Linked DNA regions of Homo sapiens: region 1 is linked to region 2. Evidence: promoter capture Hi-C in human tissues and cell types (Jung and others, 2019). All regions are on one chromosome and are shown on one strand. The core of a region is centred on a gene start or on the middle of the fragment in contact, and the rest is flanking DNA. Distances in the headings are between cores, read along the strand shown. Region 1 overlaps PRLR (prolactin receptor). Region 2 holds the start of PRLR (prolactin receptor).

Region 1 (2,700 bases), core at 86-2,585, 130 kb before region 2:
GGTTTGTGTATTTACTATACTATACTTTTTATTGTTATTTTACAGTGTACTCCTTCTACTTATTAAAAAAAGTTAACTGTAAAATAGCCTCAGGCAGATCCTTCAGGAGGTATTCCAGAAGGCATTGTTGTCATGAGCTGACAGCTCCGTGCATGCTATCATCCTTGAGGAACTTCAAGTGGGACAAGATGTGGAGGTGAAAGACAGCAATAGGGACGATCCAGACACTATGTAGTTCTAGGCTAATGTGAATGTTTGTGTCTTAGTTTTTAATGAAAAAGTTTAAAAAGTAAAACAAAAAAACTTTTAAAAATAGAAAAAAGTTTATAGTATAAGCATATAAAGAAGGAAAATGTTTCTGTACAGCTGAACAATGTGTTTGTGTTTTAAGCCAAGTATTATTACAAAATAGTCAAGGCCAGGCACGGTGGTTCACGCCTGTAATCCCGGCACTTTGGGAGGCTGAAGCGGGCAGATCATGAGGTCAGGAGTTTGAGACTAGCCTGGCCAACATGGTGAAACCCCGTCTCTACTAAAACTACAAAAAAAATTAGCTGGGCCTGGTGGCTGGCATCTGTAATCCCAGCTACTTGGGAGGCTGGGGCAGGAGAATCATTTGAACCTGGGAGGCGGAGTTTGCAGTGAGCCGAGATTTGCAGCGAGCCATTGCACTGCAGCCTGGGCGACAGGGCGAGACTCTGTCTCAAAAAAAAAAAAAAAAAAAGTCAAAATGAGTTTAAGAAAGTTTATAAAGTTAAGTTACAGCAAGCTAAGGTTAATTTATTACTGAAGAAAAAAATTTAAAAAAAATTTGGTGTAGCTTAAGTGTACAGTGTATATAAAGTCCACAGTAGTGTACAGTAATGACCCAGGGCTTCACATTCAGTCGCCACTCATTCACTGACTCACCCAAAGCAACTCCCAGTCCTGCAAGCTTTATTCATGGTAAGTACCCTTTACAGGTGTACCATTTTAAAAAATCTTTTATACTGTGTTTTTACTATACCTTTCCTATGTTTAGATACACAAATACTTACCATTGTGTTACAATTGCATGTAGTATTCGGTAAAGTAAAATGTTGTATACGATTGTAACCTAGGAGCAATAGGCTATCCCATATAGCCTAGGTGTGCAGCAGATTATCCCATCTAGGTTTGTGTAAGTACACTTTATGATGTTCAAGCAACAACAAGATAACCTAAGGATGCATTTCTCAAAAAGTATCCCCATTGTCAAGCGATGCATGACTGTACTTCTAGCCTAGTCCTGGTCTTTAAAGCTTTTTACATATTCCCCCCTCTATTTCTCTCTCCTCCATTACTGGCCTGAAGAAGATGAAATTGAGGACTGTGAGGTCCTAAAAGCTCAGTACAGCCAACAGATGAAAGGCTCTTGAGTTCATGCTGACCACCAGCAAACTGTCACATGGGTGAGAAATAAACCTTTGGCTGTTGTGCTCTGAGCTAAGAGGCTGGGTGTTATAATGGCTAGCTTTATTTAGTTGGGCAAATCTAGGGACAATCCAGAGACAACCAGTACAGCCTACTGCAGATGGTAACTACTACATTTAACCAAGTAGAAGAGCAGTGATTAAGACGGAAGCCTCCAACGCCTGACCCACTGCCATTGTCCCGTCTGGAATACCATCATCAAAGTTCCAGAACAATCTCAGTTTGGCTTCATCTACATATTCAGCCCCCTACACTGTCACCTGTAAACATGTCTACAGGTGTTCAACAACACCTGTTGGGTGACTATTTTTATAAAGTCATATAGAATGCAGTATTCTCATGTACAGATCCACGGAAACAGCACTTGGCCTTGAGTTGTGCAACTCTTTTCCATTAATCAACAGGCTCTCCATATTCCTAAGGGATAGGTTCTGAGACCTTCTTGATTCCTCCAGTAACCTCTTTGTGTGCATTAATTTGAACTCAAGGGCAGATGGATGATGAAGCCCACTGAGATGTGGCTGCAAGGTGGTTGGGTTAGTAGCTGAAGTGAATAAAAATCGCAATATCAGAAATCAAGGAAATGTGGAGACTTCAAGAACTGGGACAACCTCCATTGTGAAATCTTCAACTAGCAAGGCAATAATAATTCTCAGCCCATTCTTCCTTTTCCTTCATAAATGCACACAATTAAAACATATTTTTCTGGCATCATCATGTCTAAATATCTAAAGCACACCCTTTCAGGAATGAAAACACATATATATATAAAAACATACATATATAAATATAAAACATATATAAAACATATATATAACATATATACATATAAAACATAAATATACCTTATAAAACATATATATAACTTATAAATAACATATATATGTTTTATATATTATATATATATATATTTTTGAGATGGACTCTTGCTCTGTCACCCAGGCTGGAGTACAGTGGCGCAATCTCGGCTTTCTGTAACCTTTGCCTCCCAGGTTCAAATGATTCTCCTGCCTCAATCTCTGGAGTAGCTGGGATTACAGGTGCGTGCCACCATGCCCAGCTAATTTTTTTGTTTTTTTAGTAGAGACAGGGTTTCACCCTGTTGGCCGGGGTGGTCTCCATCTCTTGACCTCGTGATCTACCCGCCTCGGCCTCCCAAAGTGCCGTGATTACAGACGTGAGCCACCACGCCCGGCCAAACTTTTAATCTATTGGGTGCACACTTCTAAAAATGAGGCGCTTCTCTGA
Region 2 (2,700 bases), core at 69-2,568:
AGAAAAAAAATCGAAGCCCAGAGAGGGTAAGTATCTTGCCCAAGTTTGCACAGCTGATGGTCAGGATTGGGATTAGCAGCACTTCCCTGGTCAAGTGAAGCACGATTTCAGGTGGGAAATCTTGCCCGGTCAACTTGACAAATGAAGACAAAGTGATCCCTCCAGACTAATAATAATGTTTTGCAACCATTTTCAAGTCCAGTCATAGAATCCCCTACGTTGCTTGTTTTCAGGGCAGTGTGGGTTGCTTCCCCAGGATACAGGTAGAGGTCACTAAAAGGATAGTTTTCTACTCAAAGAGCCAGAACTCCAGCCCTTGCCTTCCCCTGCCGTAGCACTCGGGCCGGCCCTCCAGTTACCTGAGTTTGCCTGACTTTAACCAACTCCTCTTCCCTTCCCTCCTCCCTTCTCCAGCGGGCTCTCCTTCCAGCTTCCTCCCGGGCTGCAATTCCTCTGCCTAGGTGCCTCCGTCCAGCTCCGGCTTCTGGCCCGGAGGCTGCTCATCTGCCCCTACCCCCGCTGACTTTTGGGAGGAGCAACACCTTTCAGGTCAGCATTGCTAACCCTAAACTTTCCCCGCCGGATGCCCGCGAGGCTGCTGCGGCGGCGGCTGCTGCTGATGGGAGAGTCTCGAGTCCGGCTTTCATCACATCACCTGTCTGCGCCCCTTCCCCCTCCCCGCTCTTTTTTTCTTTTCTTTTTATTTTGACGCAAATAATTTGCATTCTGAGAATCCCACAATCAACGCCGAAACTCATGCTCAAGGATACAGGTGAAGATGCCTTTGACAAAGGCGAATGCGAGCCGAGTGCAGTTTGTAAAAGCTGGGGTTGGGGGCAGTGGTGGAGGCAAAGCACCTTAAGAGTATTTTTTAGCCCCTCTGAGAAGGGACATCCGGGCGGGAGGCGGGCGGATCCCGGGCTTCCCCGCCGGCTGCCGACTCTGGCTCCTGGCTGGCGTTCTCTCCAGGAGCCCGCGCCGGTGGCCCCGCTCTCCCCTTCAGCACGCGGGCCTCGAACCCGCATCCCGGAGAGCGGCCGCCCGCGCAGCCCCTGCCGCGCGCCGTCGGAGGCGGCCTCAGCTCGCCATGGGTACTCACTTTTGCCAGGGAGCAAAGTCTGCCACATCAGTCGATGAGTACTTCCTGCACGAGGACATGAAGCTCCATTGTGTGGAAAGCTGTTTCGCGAACGGTCGGTAAAATCCAGAAAGAGGGAGAAGGAGTGAGTAAGGCAGAAAGCCCAGCCCAGAAAACCGGCGTCTGGGGATTTCAGCCTCCGCTCCCCGGTCCCCAGCCCGGTGGCTCTGTGAGAAGAAGCTCAACTCGGTGCACTTGTTCACTCTTTCTTCATGAGAGGAGGAGTCAGTGTTGCAACATTTATGTTCCTTGCTGGAGGCAAAACAGTGATTTTCTTCAGCATGCAAAACGTCCAGAGCCTGCCAGTTTTAGAAGGCGACGGAGGTAGTTGGGGGAGCTGGAATCCTGCGAAGACCTGAAGAAACAACTGATTCCCCCCAGATCGGTTTTGCATGATTAGGGCCACATATCTTTCATTGAGACTGTACCAGAAAATAGACAGACAAAACAATAATAAAAATGACTTAGTGAGTTGAATGACCTCAAAGATGATATTTTTCCAGGCAGCCAAGATGTGGAGTGTCTCCGTGTCAAATTTCTTTCCTTATTTCTGAGTAACATTGAACAGCAGCTATATTTGAGAGGTTCTCCAGGGATTTGAATTGCACCTTGCCTGAGGAGTCAGATAGAAAGGAGCAAAAGAAGATAGTCAGTGACCTAAGAAGGTTTTGCTTTTTTTTTTTTTTAATACCCAAAGCGCAAACTTCTAGTGTGCTGTGTTTATTCTCTGCCATATGAATATAATAAACATTGGCGGTGCCTAAATAGCCCCACTTCTGTTGTTTTCCACAAATAAAGAATTTATCTTTTCTAATGGGCTGCATGTTGTTCTGACTTTTCTTCTTCTTGAAACCACACACAACCGCCTTTTCTCTTGCAAAAACAAAAACCCCACATTTAACAGTGCTGAAACAAATAATAGCACCTGCCTGAATCAAATAGTTATTTCTGACTATGTATGTTGCTGGTGTCATTTGATGCCATAATAATTAATGCATCCGATTGTTACACAACCCAGAGGGCCACCAAGGAAATACTTTAAACCAAGGTTACTGAGTTTTTTTTTTTGTTTGTTTTTGTTTGTTTTTTTGAGACAGAGTCTCGCTCTGTCGCTCAGGCTGGATTGCAGTGACCCCATCTCGGCTCACTGGAACCTCTGCCTCCTGGATTCAAGCAATTGTCCTGCTTCAGCCTCCCGAGTAGGTGGGACTACAGGCGCGTGCCACCATGTCCGGCTAGTTTTTTGTATTTTTAGTAGAGATGAGGTTTCACCCTGTTAGCCAGGATGGTCTTGATTTCCTGACCTCATGATCCACCCACCTTGGCCTCCTGAAGTGCTGGGATTACAGGCGTGAGCCACTGCGCCTGGCCGTTTTTTTTTTTGTTTTGTTTTAAGTTATTGAAACATGAGGCTTTCCCCTTTGATTTGACTGCTACTCTGGATAACTGGGAAATCACAGTTAGCAGTGAGCATTTGCCAAGCCACAGGAAGCCATTGAAAATCCCATGATGCTTTGGTGATCCTTTTGGACTGGAATCCCAGAAGCAACTACCTAGGCATA

The links. Contacts are between HindIII fragments. The study calls those that stand out against the background at their distance.
Region 1: a fragment that was not itself captured here is called in contact with the fragment with the promoter of PRLR in region 2 in 1 of the 25 tissues and cell types used here (H1 embryonic stem cells).

What each region holds. Positions count from the first base shown.
Region 1 is chr5:35,099,479-35,102,178 of GRCh38, forward strand. The region is part of intron 2 of PRLR (prolactin receptor); the gene reads right to left. Among named protein-coding and RNA genes, the nearest start is that of AGXT2, 53 kb to the left of the region's middle. The HindIII fragment of the contact is 4,719 bases long and covers 1-2,700 here.
Region 2 is chr5:35,229,169-35,231,868 of GRCh38, forward strand. PRLR (prolactin receptor) reads right to left here and starts at 1,319. Exons shown (of 10, transcript NM_000949.7): 1 at 1,100-1,319. The HindIII fragment of the contact is 8,302 bases long and covers 1-2,700 here.